Linked DNA regions of Homo sapiens: all the other regions are linked to region 1. Evidence: promoter capture Hi-C in 16 types of primary human blood cells and fetal thymus (Javierre and others, 2016). All regions are on one chromosome and are shown on one strand. The core of a region is centred on a gene start or on the middle of the fragment in contact, and the rest is flanking DNA. Distances in the headings are between cores, read along the strand shown. Region 1 holds the start of NDFIP2 (Nedd4 family interacting protein 2). Region 2 overlaps OBI1-AS1 (OBI1 antisense RNA 1). Region 3 overlaps SLAIN1 (SLAIN motif family member 1). Region 4 overlaps OBI1-AS1 (OBI1 antisense RNA 1).

Region 1 (4,963 bases), core at 1,994-4,493:
AGAATAAGAAGTCAGCTTGGTACAGGTACAATCTTAGAAGTCAGCTTGGTACAGGTACATAATCCTTTAAAATAGAGAACTTTGGCCGGGCTCTGTGGCTCACACCTGTAATCCCAGCACTTTGAGAGGCCAAGGCGGGCAGATTATTTGAGGTCAGGAGTTCGAGACCAGCCTGGCCAACATGCTGAAACCCCATCTCTACTAAAATACAAAAATTAGCCAGGTGTGGTGCACCACACTTGTAGTCCCAGTGACTCAGGAGGCTGAGGCAGGAAAATCACTTGAACCCAGGAGGCGGATGTTGCAGTGAGCCGAGATCACGCCACTGCACTCCAGCCTGAGTGACAGACACTCCATCTCAAAAAATAAAAATAAATAAATAAATAAATAATAAAATAACGAACATCAAAGTTAGAATGTGGTCTAGCAGCTGCAAGCCAAGTCAACTTCGTCATAGTTAGCAACACTGCTCATTTACTAACAAACAAAACTGAATTTCCCATAAAATTACGTGTCATACCTGGCTTTTTCTGAAATTAGAAGGGTAACAATCAAGAATTTTTGTAGCTCTAAACTGTTATCCACTGCTTTACTCAATAAATTTTGGATGCTTTTAACAATGAAAGGAAAGAAGAGATCACAGAAAAAGCAGTTTCTAGATAAAGCTTGTGCATTGGCTAATGGTAGTAAGTCCTTCTGATGACCCTGAGCATCACTGCTAGCTTTCCAGTATGAAAAGCTGTTTTTAAACTCTTTAAGTAAGTGAAAAATTAACATTGCATACCATCTCACCCCTAAGTATACTTGCCTATCTCCTGACTTAGTCATCCCTTAACATTCAACAACTCAAGTGGTTTATTGCTCCAGTTTATTAAGCATTCCAGTTTTCCCAAAAACTGAGCTAAAGGCAACCACAAAATAGTTGTGTTCATCATATAAGCCAGAGCTGAAGACTGATCCCTAGTTTAAAAAGTCTATTGAAAATGTCAATTCAGCTTTTTCTCTGGCATACACTGATGTTATTAATCAGGCCATTATAAACAAAACCAAGAGTTATACTAGATAGGTTAAATGACTACGTAAATTGTGTAACTCTAACACTAACATTGCCTTACAATGTTAGTTGTAAGTTGCCTTACAAGGAGAACAGATCGATGTCCTACCTAAAGTACTACCTTTAGAGGGACTGGTAGGCTTTATCTTTAGAAGAACTGATTTTTGCCCTCTGTTCTCAAGGAACATTCAAAGTCTATGTAGGACACATCGTCAGTTTGAAAAAAACGAGGGGAGGGGGCAGCAATAAAATATGCCCATTTATTTTGAAAGGAGTTGTTGGGAAAACAAATATCTTAAAACTGAGAGCTACATAAATTAACAGTGTTTTGGGTAGTGACGTCTGTAGGAAAAATGAAACAAGTTTCACTGCTGATATTATTCAATATTTATATCATTTTATTTTTGCTAACATTTACAAACCTAGAAATGCCTTTCAAACCATCAAAAGGGTGTACACTGACAACTTGAAAAACGCTTTCCATACTGGGAGAAACAGTATTTCCCAAGTTGTTGAGAAAAGCTGATAAATTTTCAAAGAATTCGGAATATGGACCTTTTGTAGGTTTTAAGGAATGCAAACCAATTGAAAATGGAAGCCTCATGAGCTTTTATCTTAGAAAAATGCAAAATTACATACTTTAGGATCTCATCTTACAGTTCCTTCATATTTGCCAAAATGTACTTATTAATAGAAAGTCTTGGCTTATAACCTGTCTTACATGTGCAAATAGATTTGAAAGTTGAAACCTGGGACTAACATACCTAAATTTGTAAAATTTTATAAACCATAAACTGCATCACCAGTGCTATGTATTGTTTTTCTCCTCTCCCTCAGTAAATGGGCTGAAAGTTTGTAGAATGACATGCTACCTAGCTGCAACAGCACAACAGCAGAGTCAACTATTGCTCAGTCCATCTTTAACTAAGGTTTACAACAGGAATCTCCAACGTCACCACCAGAATACACAAAGAAAAATATATTTAAAAATTGACACTGAAAATATAGAGGAACACATTTCACTTTTTTCAACATAGTTACCAAAGTTTACACAGTTAAGCTGGAAAACCTTGTATTTAACGAAAAATAATTTTTCAAACAAGATTAGAATTTGTTCTACTAAAACTACCTCTGTTTCCCCTCTAACCAAAAAAAAAAAAAAAAAAAAAAAAAAGAAAGAAAGAAAGAAAGAAAAAGTGGGGATTACCAAAAAATACAGTCATTTTTAATACTAACATAATGGAAAAGGACAAAATGACAAGGTTAACGAGCAGAGAGACAAGATCAGCATTATGGCTAGTCTTTCTCTACAGTTCCACAATTCCTAACCCACATTTTTGCCAAATCCACATCCCACCCCACGCAGTACTTACACCTCCACCCACCTACTCACCCACCCCATTTATGACGGCGATCACCTTCCGGGCAGGTATGTGAAGTCAGCCCCATTTCCAGTAGACAATCGACTAGAATGTCTCAGGAGTGACTGAGTCAGAGAATAAGAAAATGATAAAGTGAGAAATTAAAACGGATACAAGTTGTAAGGTGTGTGGAGGGAGGGCGTCTCACAGCGGGGCTAAGGGTGCGGGTGAGGAGCTAAGCAGACTTGGGGCGAGAGAGAAGGGTTTCGAAGGAGTCCTAGGCAGGAGTGCGCAGGTGAGGCGAGTGAAGCAGCTCCAGCCAGAAGATCCAAAAAAACAAAACAAAACACAACAAAAAAAAGCCACAGCTTTTCCTCCGGGAATAACCTGAGGAAAGGGACTCTCGGGACGCCGCGGCGGGAGGCAGTCCCGGGAGGCACAGGAGGCCGGGAACTCACCACCTGGTAGCGCCCAGTCCCCGGCTGGTGGTGATCCATCCTGCCCGGCTCGGGATCCGGCTTCCGAGAGAGGGAGTCTTCTCCGTGCTCAGCTCCCACGGCCACCCCCGTCGACGACGTCGTCGCCGCAGGGCCCCTTCCGCCTCCGTTCCTGCAGCCGCGGTCTCCCGGCGGAAGCTCTTCACTTCCTGTGGCTCCCGCAGCGGCCGCCGAGACCTCCGCGTTGGTCGCGGTTCCGCGGAGAAGCTCCGGGGCGCCGCGCGCGCTATTGAGCATGCTCGGACCGCTCGCGCAGACTCGCTGGCTCCGCCGGCGTGCCATCCGCGCCGCCAGTGGGAGGGTATAGCTGGGTGGGAGGAGATGGAAAAGTAAGGCAAGTCCGGGGGAGCTGTCTAGGTTGTCAACCTGTCGAGTGGGCGGTCGCAAAAGGCGCGCGGGGGGCGGGAATGACCCGTCCTTGATTGGTCTTTTCTGTGTGCGCGAGTTTCGCGCAGGCACGAGCCAGTGCGCCTTCTCACCACACAGAGACAGAGGCTGACAAGGGATGGGGCCGCGTTCCTAGAACACCTGAGGACAGGTCGCCCGGGTACCCGACACTTCCTCACCCAGCGTAGGACATGGGGAGGAGATTCATCTCTAGAACATTCCCAAAACGCTTATTCAAAATCATTCGTAAGATAAGCGATTTTTTAAAGACTAATATAGAGTAGTTAGAGTTTACAGAAAAATTGAGAAGTTACAGAGATATCCCATATACACTTGGCTCCTACGCATGCATAACCCCCCACCATTATCAACATCCCCCCTCAGAGTGGTACATGTGTTACGACTGATGAACCTGCATTGACACCTCATCATCACTCAAAGTCCATAGTTACCTCAGGGTTCACTCAGGTTGTTGTATACTCCTCGAGTTAGAACAAATGTGTAATGGCAGGTATCCATCATTATAGTATCCTACAGAGTATTTCCACTGCCCTGAAATTCTTCTGTGGGGTAATTTTTGTTTTTGTTTGTTGTTTTTTTAGAGATGGGGTCTCACTATATTGCCCAGACTGGAGTGCAGTGGCTGTTAGCAGGCGCAGTCATGGCTCACTGTAGCCTCGAACTCCTCGGCCCAAGCTATCCACCTGCCTCAGCCTCTGGAGTAGCTGAGACTACAGGCACTAGCTCTTTGGTTACTTTTTAAACTCTTTTTTCCACTTTTTGGTAATAAGAGATTTAAAAATCCAACGGACTCTCCAGACAACTCTCAAAGAAAGAGGTCTCTAGAGTTCTAGGTTACTGGAAGGACGTTAGAAGAAAGTAATGAAATCAGATAGGATTATTTTGTGGTAATACTCAATAATTCCAATTGATTTAACAGCAAGGAATCACTTGGGAGCACTGTTAGTAGTATCTCACTGTCTGGTTAACCACACATGACACGGCATAAAGCATATTTCTCTAGCAAGTAGAAGAGTATGACAGAGCAGCGAAAAGTACCTTTTAACCTGAAGACCAACGTTCTATACCCTAAAAACTATGATGCTGCTTGATGTGGCCCAGCTATGTTTTTAACATAACACCACATTTTCCCTAAATGATCTTACAGTGGAGCGCCCTGAAGGGAAGGAAAGGGATCTGGAGCCCCATTTATTTCCTTCATGAATGTCCAGAGGAGATCCTTGAAATGAAGACTGCCACTGGGTGAGCCTAATCAACTGGTTAAAATAGCAAGATAGAATAAAAACAGAAACTCTTTGAGAGATTGACAACTAAAAAATGTAAGCCTTCCTCATAGTTCTTTTTAAAGCATTCATCAACTCTTCCTATTTGTGCCGTTTTGACATGTCTAATAGCATAAAGCATTACTGTGCTAACAATAAGAGGCAGTGATATCTCATACTTAAATATTGTTAAACTTGCCTTGTTTTGATCTTAATGTATTTTAGTTTCTAAGCCAATAAACATATGCCATTTTATTGGTATTACTGGTACAAACGCTCACTCTCACAATTTCACTCCAAATGGTATTGCCTCTCGATGACCAAAACAACAGCCAGTATCAGCAAACTGAAATTAGATCCTTATATCACTTACGATCTATA
Region 2 (4,810 bases), core at 800-3,299, 1.3 Mb after region 1:
GTATTTCATAATTAAGTGTGGTTAAACAAATTAAAATTTCCACCTAGACCAGAAGGTCCTACAAACAAAATGTTTCCAATTAGCATTGTCTGTGCAGCCAGTAAAGGTGTGAAAATGGACAAGGTTAAAACTGGCATAATAACTATTTGAAGAATGGTTAAATAGACCAAAGCTGTTGCCCTTTTCCTATCTCCCAAAACAGTGTGATTCTGTTCTCTTCTGAGCCTAGAAAATATCTGACAGTCATCATTTTTTCGTAAAATTTATGTGCAGATTTTTGCAAACCAAGATTAACAGACAATGAAGGAAGGGCTGATCTGAGTGTATGAGTATAGATATATAGATATATAAAATATATGTGTGTGTGGGGGGGTATATTGTTTTTCTATTCATTGACTTTTGAAAACAGAAAGCTCCTTACCATCTAAAGGAATATATCCAAAATGGTGAAGTGTCAAGTGGTATGATTTGGTTGAGATGCACAAATGTTCACTGAAGACCAGGTGGGTTTCAAGTTAAATACCTGAAGATATATAAGACATAGTATCTACTTTGCATTAATATTTTTGCAGGCCGGGATCCCTGACTTCTCTCCCTCTAATCATTTCAAATTAGTAAATCAGGAAATCCCAAAATCTGTTGGGAAGGACTGTTAGAAAATGTTAGGTCCTAAAAGCATGGAACCAAATTCTGGCTCTGTCACTTTCCCACTGTATTTCTTTGGTGAATTTTTAAAATTTTGATGAATTTCTTACCTAGAGTGACTGTATTCTCTGATCTCAGAGAAGTCCTGGCTTATACTTGTTGTCTCGGATTAATTAACAAGACCTTCCTCTTTTCAAGAGCTCCTCATTTTCTATAATAAATTATATGATGACATGTCAACTTCAGAATGGTTTTAAGAATTAAATGAACATATGTGGCTGTGTGTATAAAAAAGCTTGAAAAATGTACAAATGGAGGTTAAAAATGAGAAATCCAATAAATGAATAAAAGATTAATGAAGAATGAAGATTTTATTAGTATTTTAAGATATAACCTTTTCAGCATAGGCACAAGCTCTTTCCAAGATCTTGGATTAATTTTTCATAGTATGAACATATGGCAAGTGTTTTTCCTAATATCACTATGTGGCAGAAATAGATCCCATGTCCAGATACATATATTTCATGGATCCAGTGACATTGATTTACTTTTTATTTACTTTGAAGTCATTGGGATACAAAGAAATATAACATTGTAAATTCAAATGTTTTCTTTGCAAACCAAAGGGCTTTGTGATCACTTATTTCTTTCTCTTCCACCAGAAGATGAGTAGCATGTAATATTCTCTCTGAATCATATATGAAAAAGCACAGGACTTACTTCTCAAGCGGCAGAGCCCTGGAGGATTATTCCACTAGAATAACCACTTGCGAAAATATCTCTACAAGATAATGCAACTTGAAAAAGAAGACCCAAGGTGACCCCTTAATTACTAACATTAGAACTCAAAGCTCTTGGAGATCTAGGGGTTTTTCACTTTAATACTTAGCTAAATAGGTTAAGATTATAGAATAGCCTAAACAAAGTCAGTATTGATATTGTTTGTGGAATATGGAAAAATATTTTCCAAATTATTAAGAGACAGCCTTAAAGGATCCACTAAGACAAAAGGCAAAATGGACCCCTCATCCTCTGACCTGTGTAGCAATAAGCTAGGTTTATGGCTTGCCTGCTCACCTCAGGAAGTGGTAATAACAGCCATTATTTTCTGTGGAAGCAATGCCTGTAACCATGTCATCCTCTGATAAATCATACCAGTTGCATCTTATTATCACACCGATGGTTCAATTAACTCACATCACCACTCAATTTATCAAATTAAAAAGGAAGGGTTTTGTGTGTTCTAATAATTGTTTCATTAACATAAAACTAGTTAAGAACCAAGAAGCTTCAGATCCAGATTCATAATGTCTTTATGCAGTTTTGTTTTGATTTTGCTCTGATAGTCGTACACTGACACATCTTGTGTTCTATTAGTTGTCATTATTATTCTTTCATTAACATACATATGGCTATTGAATGTGGCAGGTTTTCATAGAAGACAAACACAATATTACAGAACAAAATGGTGACCATAATTTTGAAGATCTAGGCATGTTTTTAAGCATTACAAAAGCTTTAAAATAAGCATTGTCATCAGTTCAGTATGGAAGTGGTGTACTAATGAAAGAGCTACGTTAAACTAATATATTCAAGGACTTTTAAGATTAGAGAGTAAGGAATTTCAGAGTAAATTTTAAATGATTCTTAGAAATTTTTATCTAACTAGAACAGATAATTCTGTTGTTCTATATAAATAAATCAAGGAAAAGATATATTTCAGAGGCATTGCCCAGTGAAAATTAATTTTGGAAATTTTAAGTCAGATGGTTGGAGAATGTCAGCCATACTTTAATAGTTTCACAGCAACTTCTTCCAAGCAGAGTTGTACAATCATGTGTTTAAATTAAACTTATCACTACACACTAATAATAATGTTATATTGTCCCGTACTTATCAATTTTCACAACTCTTTCACATTATTTTACCCTTACAGCAACTACATAAGTTAAATATGATCCTTCCCATCTTACAGTAGGAACCAAGGTTCACAGGGGTTATGTCACCCAAGTTGAGTCATCCTGGTATGTGTCCATGCCAAGACTAAAGTATAGATGGTCTAGTTAAAAGACACTTGTCTTGAAATCAGAAAAACAGCTTCACTGTTTATTAATGGAGATATAGTTAAAATCTGATTGCCATGTTTCTCATCTCTAAAGTGAGGCTTCTACCACCCAACATAATGAGTGTGTTAAAATAAAATGTGTGAGTAAAAGCACTTGGCACATTGCATACACACTCAAAAAATATCCTTTATTTCTCCTGGTGTGATGCCTTGCTACCTTCTTTACTTACTTAAACACTACCAAATGGAGGTGGCCATGTGGGTCATGTTTCTGGTAACACCTACAACTGATTCTGTGCTGGTCTCTTTTTATCCTAATAGATTCCTCTGTTTATGGCAATGGTGATCATTGAGAATGGCACTTTGACCATCTCTACTTGGATAACCATAAACCCAAGATTCCTCATACAAAATTTATCTCATTCTTACCCTATTGGTTGTTATTTAGACTTTCTCTTCTCTAATCAGGCCATATCTTCATATAATTCAGAAATTTTAAAACAGCTTTTATGTTTTTTTATTTAATTCTCACAACAGCCCAGGAATACAGGTATCCCTTCTCTCAGTTTGGACTAATTTTATCACTATTATCATAGTCTTAGGGACTCAATCCCTGCTCTCAGTTTGGACTAATTTTATCATTATTATCACAGTCTTAGAGACTCAGAACATTCATACATTTTCACCTCTTCCCTACCTGGTTATCTGAATCCAATTAGGCATGAAGTCCTGTCCTGCCAATTTCAGCTTTGAATTGTCTTTCACATTTTATTCTTTCCGTATATTTCCACTTTCCCTACTCTATTTTAGGCCCTTTAGTTACACAGTTGGACTGCTGTAAAAAACTTTTCAGTTGGTCATTCTGCCTCCAATAACTCCCTATATCAACCTCTTCATGTTTATTCCTAGGTAAACCTTCTAAAATAGTACTTCAATCATGTCATCCCTATGCTCAGGGCCTGAGGGTATCTTCCTGTTGCTTTCAAGACCAAGTCTAAATTCTTTAGCACAGCATCAAAGATCTGTCCTCATTTTTGTAATTTTATCTCCCTGTGTATCCATATGAAATAGGTCTACTGTTATTTCCCAGAAACATCTTACAGTTGTGTAACTGGAATTTTATTCTCATCATATTTCCTTTTATATGTACTTTGCTTCTTCTCTCACACTTTTTCACTTTTCTTTTCTTTTTTTGAAAGAGGGTCTTGCTCTGTTACCCAGGCTGGAGTGCAGTGGTGCGATCTCAGCTCACTGCAGCCTCCACCTCTCAAGTAGCTGGGGCTACAGGCACGCACCACCACGCCCGGCTAATTTTTGTATTTTTAGTAGAGATGGGGTTTCACCATGTTAGCCAGGCTGATCTCTAACTCCTGATTTCAAGTGATCCTCCTGCCTCGGCCTGCCAAAGTGCTGGGATTATAGGCATGAGCCACAGCACCTGGACCTTCTCCCACACTTTCTAAAAGCAACTTGTTCTTCCAAGTCTTATGGAGATCCCACGTCTTCCATGAAGTCTTAACTAGCCAAAAGTGTTTATCTCCTCACCAGTTCAACTGATCTACATAATTTGTTCTGTGGACTATGCATACTTCTGGAGGCACATCGTTCATCTCTCTCTCGTGTCTTAAACTGGACTTTCTGAAACCCTGTCTTTGGCTCCTCATAGAATTAGCTTTTACATATACCTGCAGAGCTATCCTTACTCTGTAGTTCCTATGCTGGGGGGGGAAAAAGAAAAATCTATTGAATTTTGTATCCTCTCCAGATTCTGAACTAAAATGAAGGAGAACACAACTAAACCAACATCTTGGGCCATGGATTAATTAAAAATCTATTTTTGCGGATAACAGAAACCATCTAGGCTCATGAAACCCTTCAGCTTTCTGACATATCTGGAAACATTTTGATATTTATTTTAATTTTATAATTATCAGATGAAAAGTAAGAAAAACTCTCTACCTTTGTTAAGATCTGACACTGGAATCACACAGCTGGTAGCAAAGTTAGTTATCATCTAATCCAAATCTTAATAAAATGTTTTACTCTTCTAAACATGAGACTTCTATGATTCAGAAACACTGCTGTTGAATATGGAAACAC
Region 3 (4,922 bases), core at 2,056-4,555, 1.8 Mb after region 1:
ATGAAGCACTTAGTCTAATATCTCAATAGCAACCACCAATTAGGATTACTTTTTAGAAAAGAAAAAAAAACCTAACCTTATATGTAAATGTATCTAGTGTGCAAATGACATAATGCTTATATGTATGTAAATCTATCTAGTGTGCAAATGACTTAATGCCGGGGTGGGTAAACTGTGGCCGAGAGTACCCCAAATCCAGCCCACTCCTGCTTTTGTAATAATTCACCAGCTAAGAAATGTTTTCATATTTTTTTAATAATTGGGAAAAATATATACATTTTGTGACACGTGAAAAACCACACAAAATTCAAATGTCAGGGCTTGTAAATAAAGTTATATTGGAATGCATCCTCATTCATTAATTTCTGCATTGATCATTGTTTTCTGGGCATGGCTAAGTTGAACAGTCATGACAGAGATTATGTAGCCCACAAAATCTAAAATATTGACTATCTATCTCCTTTCAAAAAAAAGTTTGTTGACCCCTGAGATAAAGGACTAATTCTGAATTCAATTTGAATTTTACTTCAAATTATTGAGCCAAATTTGTATGTTAAAATGTAGATATAAGTCACTGAGTCAAGGATTAAGTAAGGAGGCTTAGGAATGGTCTATATAACCCTTCAAAGAGTTAATCCAAAGGGATTTAATGGTTTGTGTATTAGTCTGTTCTCACACTGCTACAAAGATACTACCTGAGACTGGGTAATTTATAAAGAAAGGAGGCTTAATTGATTCACAGTTCCCCATGGCTGGGGAGGCCTCAGAAAACTTGCAATCATAGTGGAAGGTAAAGGGGAAGCAAGGCACATCCTTACATGGTGGCAGGAGAGAGAGAAAGTGAAAGAGCGAGGAAGTGCCACACTTAACACCATCAGCTCTCATGAGAACTCCCTATCATGAGAACAGCATGGGGGAAACCGCCCCCATGATCCAGTCACCTCCCACCAGGTGCCTCCCTCTACATGTGAGGATTACAAATGGAGATGAGATTTGGCTGGGAACACAGAGCCAAACCGTATCAGTTTTCTTCGAGTCACTTAGGTAAATGGGAACAGAATGAATACTACAGCCTCCGACTCTGAGATGGCTGCTCTGTTAGATGAGCATCTATCACCAAAGTTTTAACCCTAACATGCCTTTGTCCCTACACTGCTCTTCAACTTTCCATTATTAAGTCACCTGTTTCATTTCAGTTAAAATGTTAATAAAATACATTCTTTCATCCCACCTTCCGAGTATTTAACAGATTTCTGTTGATATTTACTTATGACCATGCCAATACGGCAGTACAGAATACTAATTAAGTATGGAGACTCTGGTTTCAGAGAGACCCTGGCTCTGACTCTGTCCCTGAGTATCATTCTGCCTTGTAACCCTGGGAACTTCTCTAAACTTCGTATTTCTCACCTCTAAAGATGAGTTCAGTTACACTGAATAAGATGAAGGATGTCAAGAATGTAAAGGTAATGAATGTCATAGAATTAAGAGCTCTTGAAGCATTATCTATAATGCTTTGTCTTATGTCCAAACATGTTATTCATTATCCTCAAAGAGCTTCATGGGCAGCGTTCTCAAATATCAGTGTACATGAGAATCACACTGGTGAACTTCTCAATGCAGACTCCCCTGACTCTACCCTCAAACAGTATCATTCTTTAATCTGGAGGCTCCGGAATCTGTACTTTGAAGCTCATGTATGATTTGGATGCAGGTGGTCCATGGAATAGAAACAGTGTTCCCAGAGGATCAAACAGATGCCCAGAGGTTAAGAGACAAGCCAAAAGCCTACATAATTACAGCTTCAAGTAGTTCCCTGCATCAAATAGCAAGGAACTGAGTACCACTCATTCATTTTTGCTGTTTTTCCAACTGCCCTTTTTTTAAATTTAAACTTCTGTTAGGCTCCATAAGTTAATTAATGTTACAGACAATATGAAGATTTCTTAGTTTTTAAAGGTTAGCACTTCCAGTTATACATCCAACTAAATGTTAAAGACACTCAGTAAGGTCAGTACTCAGATCCCCATGAAATCCTGTTTTCTGCCTTAGAAAACAGCCACACAACCTTGTTACTGACCCCAGAGCACTGATAACTGACAATTTTTTTGACTGGTATATTTGCAAACAGAAAAAAAAAAGAAATAAATTTGTGTGTTCCTACATTGCAATATGAACTAAAGCAAACTAAAAATATGGCTAAAATCAAGCACAAAACTAAACACATCTTACATTGAGAAAGCTTGATGTGTAATACATGTGAAGCAAATTGCATGCAACAGCTGCACCTCAGGGTAAGAATTTTCAATTGAAATGTTTATTCCAAAACCAGCAACAAAAGCAGCACTGAGAGTGACAAGAGTTGGAGAATGTAAATGCACACACTCACAATTACCTTGCTCCAGTCTAAAGCACAGGGAACGTCTCGCTGCTTCCATCTCAGGAGTTGGGTTATCTAGGACATGTCTACACCACTGCAAAGGAGTCAGGGATTTCTCTGATGAGGTGAACGTCTTTGAAGAGCCAATGTATAACCTTAAAAAAAGAAATCTACATTATAGGTATGATATAGGTATACAGAGAGTACCTCTCTCTGGGGAAAGCAACATGTATTTAACAATTTCCATAGAAACAGAACTCATATTTGATGACTTCAAAGTATCAGAAATAGTTTTTAACAGGCAAATATCCCCAAATAGAATATGACACTTCCTGTAGCCTGGTGAGAACTTCCAAAAAAAGGTCTAACAATTTTCCCCCTAACTGTGTGTTTCAGCATCAGAGATCAAGGGCTTTTTTTTTTTTTTTAACTAAACTAGCCCTAAAAAGGCACTATCATGATCTTACTATCTCTATTGACATGTCAAGAAATGAACATTTTCATCTTTCTCTTTGGCAACAGAATCTTTTGTAAACTTGGGCTAATGAAGGTAAACATGATGTGACAAACAAGGCAAATCTTATGTGTATTTTTTAAAAATAAGTCTAAACACCCGTAAAAGCCAGTCACTTGATTCTTTGAACCCTTACATAATCACATATTTCTCCTGTCTCAAATCTATACTAACCTTGGTATATGTTTCTTTTTCATTAAAGCCAAACAAAGAGCTTTAAAAGATATGTTTTACGAAGACTTCACTTTCAGCACCTACACAATTACACAGTAATGGATAGTATTCAAAATGACTACCCGGAGGCACTGCAAGTTATAAAAAAGCTTCTCTCATTAATATGCCATGTTAAGGTAGATTTTAGAATATTTTCAGTGATAGGGCTATACAGAAAGGTTTATCTTGAGGAATAAACAGCAGTTAACTAAAAAAGGGGGGAGGGTGAATTACCTCCCCAAAACTGCTGGCTCTAATACGTGACACCTTACTACTATAAGCTTACATTAATTACAAATCTAAAGTAATCTTCTTTCCAACAAAGCTACCACAATTCTAATAAGCACATATTCTTGAAATAACATACTTCATTATTCATACTTTCACTGTTCTAGACAAAACGTTCACCTATTAGAGTAATTTATCAGTTATACAAGATGGTTGGGGAATGTACTATTCTTCAGTAAATTATTCTTACAGATCAGGGATTGCCAAATGTTTTCTGTAAAGGACCGGCAAGTAAATATTTCAGGCTTTGTAAGCCACATGATCTCTGTCACAACTACTCAGCCCTGCCATTCCAGTCCAAAGGCATCCTAGACAATATGTAAGCGAATAAACGTGGCTGTGTTCCTTTAAAATTGATTTATAGACATTGAAAGTTGAATTTCCCATAGTTTTCACATTCTTTGTATTTTTTTTCATCATTTAAAAACATAAAACCGTATCTTACCCACCATACAAAACATGCAACGGCTCTGATTTGCCCTTGAGACAGTTTGTTCACTCCAGTTACAGGTAAGGACTCTAAAATATAGATCTCAATGGATTTAATTGTAAGTCCAATATATTTTTTTTTTTCCTTAGAGTGTGTTGCACAGTTGTGACTCCATCAAGAGTATATATAGTTAAAAATCATATTCTTGGGCCCCAGCTCAGTCCTACTATGGCAAGATTATCACCTACCTATGTAGGTAATAATCCCTTCCACTTCCTTGCAACATAGCCTAAACTGCCCAGTACACGGTACTTCTCCCTACTCACAAGTATAGGTTAGTCCAGGCTAGTTATTCTCAATGTCTCATGCCTCAAAATTACTTAAACATCTTGTTAAGACAAATTGCTAAACCACACCCCTTAAAAGTTTGATGCATAGGGTCAAAGAATCTGGATTTCTAAGCAGCTTCCAGGTGATGCTAATATTACCGGTCTGGAGACCACATCTTGAGAGGCACTCAGCTAAGCCAATCATGGTATTTTCATTGTTCCCCTTTGCCTGACTGGTTTAGGCCCACGCCCCAGACACAATCCTAGCCAACAGAAACTGAGAGAAAATCATCTGATAAGCTTGCGGACAAGTTTTTCCTTAAAGGGAGGTGGAAGTGTCACAAAAGACTCAATTATATGCTTCCTACAGGAAACGCACCTTAAACATGGGCAAACAAATAAGTTAAAAGTAAATAGCCAGAAAAGTAATCAAAAAATAAAAAATAAAAAACTACCCACAAAGAAAAACCTGGGCCCAGAAGACTTTACTGCTAAACTCTACCAAGTATTTAAAGAAAACATCAGTTCTTCACAAACTCTTCCGAAAAACAGAAGAGGAGGGAATACATCCTAATACATCCTATTAGGGCAGTGTTACCTTGACACCAAAATCAGACATTACAAATTAAGAAACTAACGGCCAATATCACACATGAACACAGATGTAAAAAGTCTAAATATTTCAGTAAATTGAGTCTAACTTCACCATTAGCATATTTCACCATTAATAAGTGGGGTTTATATCAGAAATAAAAAGTTGGTACAAAT
Region 4 (4,854 bases), core at 1,764-4,263, 1.4 Mb after region 1:
CTAGAATAAAACTGTTAACAGATGTCATTTTTTGTACAGGTGAATAGTTGATTCAGACAAAATTTGAAAAGTCATATCTGTAGACATCATAAAGAGACATGGTTATAGATAACATAATGTAAGTATGTATAACTGTGTGTATATTAATGATCTCTCTTGCTGGTCTCTGCCTATACCTCCTTTATGCACTATCTAAGATATTTTACTGACAGTGCAATATTCTACAAACATTAAGGATGTCTTTCTGCCTATAAGATAAATGCAAATTCTTTAATAGGAACTACATTAGTCAGGATTCTCCAGAGAAACCAAACAAATCAGAGATATATACCTATATCTATGTGTATATTTATGTCCCTATATTTATCTACCCTCTATCTATCATCTATCTATCTGTATATAAAAAGGAGATTTATTATGAGGCATTGGCTCATGTCATATGGAGGCTAAGAATTGCCACAATCTGCATTCTGCAAGCTGGGGACCCAGGAAAGCCAATGGTGTAATTCAGTTTTAGTCTGAGAATGAATGGTGTAAATACCGGTTCAAGGGTAGAAGAGGAGATGGGATGTCCTACTCAAGTAGTGAGGCAGAACAAAAGGGATGAATTCTTCCTTTCTCCACCTTTTCTTATATTCGGGCTCTTAAGGGGTTGATGATTCCCACCCACATTGGGGGTGGCAACCTACCGAGGCCACTTATTCAAATGTTAATCTCACAAGCACCCTCACAGATACACCCCCAAAGTCACATATAATCTGGGCATTTCATGGCCCAACCAAGTTGACACATAAAATTAACCATCACAGGGCCCTTCATAATTTGGTGGCAATGATAAAACCTGCCCATCATTCAATACAATTGAATACAACCCTACCCATCCATTAAGTTTATGCTAAACCACACCTGCTCCATGGAGCCTTGCCTGACTCTCTTATAGGATGGGAAGCTGCACTATAATCCCATCACTCACCTTCTTCACCATTCTTCTCCACCCTTCTTTCGTGATCTGTCCTCTGCCTTCTCCCCAGCAAACATTTACTGATCACCTAATGTGTGAAAAGCTAACTTGACAACTAGTCAGGGACTATTTGTAAAGTTTTCTATATTGCTCTTGAGCTTTCCATGTTTCTTTGACTGGGCTTCCAAGCATGAGTGTAATTTCTGTGAAGATAAGGACTACATCTCATACTTGTTTGTATATCTTGCAATGCTTACAGTAGTGCTTTCAACAAAGTAGACTTAATAATTTTTTGTGTGTTAAATGTATTTGCCCCTATAACTTTTTAAACAAAGTGATGATGTTCAACTTGATGTAATTAATCTTACATAATTGTGAATTTTGTTTTATGAGACAATGTAAAGTCGAAATAAAAATTGAGGAAATTTGGAATCTGAGTTGATTCCTGGTTCCATCACTTCTTGCCCGTGTGACCTGGAACAATGCATCTAATCTACCTTTGCCAGAGTTTTGTCACATACAAAATGTGGCTAATAACATCTATATAAAGTACTGCAGAGGGCAGTGGTAAGGATCAAACGAGACATGAAGAATGCTCAGGATTGTTCTTAATGTTCTTGTGAAAGGTGCAAATATACCTGTGAAAGGAAAATAAATCTTGCAACCCCCATATCACTAACAAAGGGAAAAGTCAAGCTAAGTACTGCAGACAAATCTGCCTCCCATTCTACTCCTAAATAAAACAGCTACAAAGATTAAAAAGATAAATACCTCTCTCCCACTTTGTCTGCAAAGAAACTCCTTGTGGATAAAGGACAGACAGAACTCAGTCATCTTTCTGCTCACGTGAGACAAATGCATATCTGATTGCTTCCTTTGCCCTATTGTTTCACTAAGCCAGACTAAGGCATAAGTGACTATTCCTGTAAATCGTATATTCAGTGACAGGCTAATCAGAAACTTACAAGAATGTAACCATTTGTCTGTTATTTACCTATGACCTGGAAGCCCCTGCCCCACTTCGAGTTGCCCTGTCTTTCCAGACCAAACCAACGTACATCTTAGACATATAGATTGATGTCTCACGTCTCCCTAAAATGTATGAAAGCAAGCCGTGCCCTGAACCCCTTGGGCACATGTTGTGAGGACCTTCTGAAACTGTGTCAGGGGTGTGCCTCCTTAACCTTGGCAAAATAAACTTTGTAAATTGATTTAGACTTGTATCAGATATGTTTTGGTTTACATTCTAAAGTCATCAGCTACGTTGTTATTTTCAGGACAAATGAACTCTCAATTGCTTAACACCTAACAGGTAGTTCTCACTCAAATTCAGCTGTAGGTCAATGAGGGGAGGAACACACAGAGGCCCCTGCTCAACATAGGCTCTCAAGCATCTAGGTTGATGGACACTCCACTCTCTGGAACATCTGCAGTACCTGCCGCAGCAGAGGCAGATGGGGATCATGGGCTGGGTCCTCCGTGTGTGGACCCGTAAGTGACCCATCAGTACCGCCCAGAAGCAAGAACAGCAAGGGAGTTGGAAAGTGCAGGGGAGCAGATTAAGTGATTGACGAACCTCCTGTCTCCGCGACGGATAATAATGGGATCTATAGAGAGAATGGCAGCAAGTAGAGACACAGTTGAAAAGACGTAAAGGTCACAACAAAGTCATTTCTGGAGTCAGATTTCAGAAATATAAATTTTTGAAGGAATGCTGTTGAATTAAATATTTTAACATAATACTCATTGTTTGACTTCTGAAAAGCAGTACTTCCCAAAACTTTATTATTACTTTTCATGTTTTAAATTCATGTTTCAAACTTTTTCACGGATTACAGATGGAAAGAATCTTGTTTTTAGAATCAAAAGTTGATCTTAGCCATTATTTTCAGTGTGAACGTGTTTTACGTACCAAACCTGCACTTCTTGTTTGCTGCCAGCAGGGGGAGGTGTAAGAATTCTTTAAGCTTCCTCACTAAACTTAAGAGAAGCTGAAAGGGGCAGAGAAAGTGACCGATTATTAATCATTTCCCTAAAATCAGCAGGGTTTCCTGCAGAGAGACACTGATTATCTTGGAATGTTTTGAATATAGGATCCATTAGAATAACAAAAAGCACTTGAAAAAAAAAAGCTTGTGTAAAGATGCTCTAAGTTTTTCTCTGGTTTTGTTTCATTTTTCCAAAATAAAATTTGTGACTATAGACTGCTTCACTTTTGGGGGGATGAGCTCCTGTATATTTCTGACATAGAAATACAGAAACGAGTCACCTTTATCTGAGCCTATGAATTCTCTGATTCTGTTAGGGAGCTGAGTCCTTCATTCTTTTCTGCTGTTCCTTAAAATTTCTTACACTTTCCCAGGAGTAACTGCTGATGTCCTATCAGTGACTGCACTACACCTTTGCTATCCTGCTGATTATTCATCAATGTCCTTTCTCCGTGATTAAGAGGTGTCACATCATCGCATATGATCAACTTCCTGACTTTTACTCAGGGGTTTAATGGAAGGGATTGTTTTTTGGTTTGTTGGTTTGTTTCTTTGGCCTCTCTAGCTCATAAGAAAAAGTATCTGAATTATATGTAAATCTTATATTTTCTTCTTAGATGAATTTTAAAGTGTGTGTAAAATGAAGAAAATATTACACTAGAGTAGAGGAAAGAGAAGCTAATAAAATTTTCATCTAAGAATAATTTTATTGTTTTTCTGTTCTTTTTTTCTGGTTGTCACTTTGTGCAATCAATCCAAATAATTCAGATCACAAAACTATCTCTTCCTTTGATTCTCATATAATATGGTACTTAGTTAAGTCTTTGGCATTTTGATCCAAACGTTTTTCTAAACCTTCTATCTGCTTTTGTCTATATAGCCGTGGCTATATAGACGATCTAGAATGTGGCATATTGTTCATCTTTTACGCTCAGTGAATTATGAGATTATCTAATTTGTTGCATAAATACATACAGAGGTATCTTTATGCTAGAGTTACAAAAAGTTACACTGCATTATTCAGAATTTTAAAAACTTACTTTAAAAAATTAAGTCTACTATATAACTCCATATCCTATTGCTATGGTTTGGCTCTGTGTCCCCACCCAAATCTCATCTCATATTGTAATCCCCATAATCCCCACATGTCAAGGGAGGGACCTGGTGGGAGGTGATTGAACCATGGGGATGGTTTCCCCTATGTTGTTCTCACGATAGTGAGTGAGTTCTGACAAGATCTGATGGTTTTATAAGTGTTTGACAGTTCCTCCTTCACAGGCTCTCTCTTGCCTGTTGCCATGTAAGATGTGCCTGCTTCCTCTTCTGCCATGATTGTGAATTTCCTGAGGCCTCCCTAGCCATGTGGAACTGTGAGTCAATTAAACTTCTTTTCTTTTTAAATTACCCAGTCTCAGGAAGTTCTTTATAGCAGTGTGAAACTGACTGACACATCTATCATGTATGATTTTGGAAAAAAATATTATCAAAATAACTTCAGTCTCTAATATGTTTACTAAGAAATTATAATTTTAAATTGCAATTTTCCACAACTTTCTTACTTTCGTTTTTTGTTTTTCTGTTTGTTTAAGAGATGAGGTATCACTGTGTTACCCAGGGTAGACTCAAAATCCTGTGCTCAAGTGACCCTCCCTCATCAGGCTCCTGAGTAGCCGGCACTGCAAGCACACACCATCATACCAGTTTCTACTTTCTTTAAAAAGTGTTGCTTTAAATATTTGCTACTAGGAATAAAGTCTTATGACAGACATATTAACTTTTAAAAGAAGACAACCTTAGATCAGAGTCTCTTGAAAGATTAAATGTCCTCTGTTAAATGTAAACAGTTCACCAATTTGGGAACATCTGTTCATACAGCTGGAGTCTAAAATATTTGGATTGGCTTGA

The links. The method cuts DNA at HindIII sites, captures the fragments that hold promoters and counts their contacts. A CHiCAGO score of 5 or more calls a contact.
Region 2: a contact is called between a fragment that was not itself captured here and the fragment with the promoter of NDFIP2 in region 1, in 1 of 17 cell types (naive B cells). The highest score is 5.2, in naive B cells.
Region 3: a contact is called between a fragment that was not itself captured here and the fragment with the promoter of NDFIP2 in region 1, in 1 of 17 cell types (non-activated CD4 T cells). The highest score is 6.5, in non-activated CD4 T cells.
Region 4: a contact is called between a fragment that was not itself captured here and the fragment with the promoter of NDFIP2 in region 1, in 1 of 17 cell types (total B cells). The highest score is 5.5, in total B cells.

What each region holds. Positions count from the first base shown.
Region 1 is chr13:79,479,435-79,484,397 of GRCh38, reverse strand. NDFIP2 (Nedd4 family interacting protein 2) reads right to left here and starts at 3,243. Exons shown (of 8, transcript NM_019080.3): 1 at 2,874-3,243. The coding sequence starts at 3,194. NDFIP2-AS1 (NDFIP2 antisense RNA 1) reads left to right here and starts at 3,167. Exons shown (of 3, transcript NR_046685.1): 1 at 3,167-3,246; 2 at 4,468-4,562. The HindIII fragment of the contact is 10,753 bases long and covers 668-4,963 here.
Region 2 is chr13:78,142,401-78,147,210 of GRCh38, reverse strand. All of the region lies in intron 1 of OBI1-AS1 (OBI1 antisense RNA 1), which reads right to left. Among named protein-coding and RNA genes, the nearest start is that of OBI1-AS1, 90 kb to the right of the region's middle. The HindIII fragment of the contact is 228 bases long and covers 1,936-2,163 here.
Region 3 is chr13:77,717,145-77,722,066 of GRCh38, reverse strand. SLAIN1 (SLAIN motif family member 1) reads right to left here. Exons shown (of 7, transcript NM_001242868.2): 2 at 2,396-2,535. Among named protein-coding and RNA genes, the nearest start is that of MIR3665, 21 kb to the right of the region's middle. The HindIII fragment of the contact is 171 bases long and covers 3,220-3,390 here.
Region 4 is chr13:78,119,729-78,124,582 of GRCh38, reverse strand. The region is part of intron 1 of OBI1-AS1 (OBI1 antisense RNA 1); the gene reads right to left. Among named protein-coding and RNA genes, the nearest start is that of OBI1-AS1, 67 kb to the right of the region's middle. The HindIII fragment of the contact is 165 bases long and covers 2,931-3,095 here.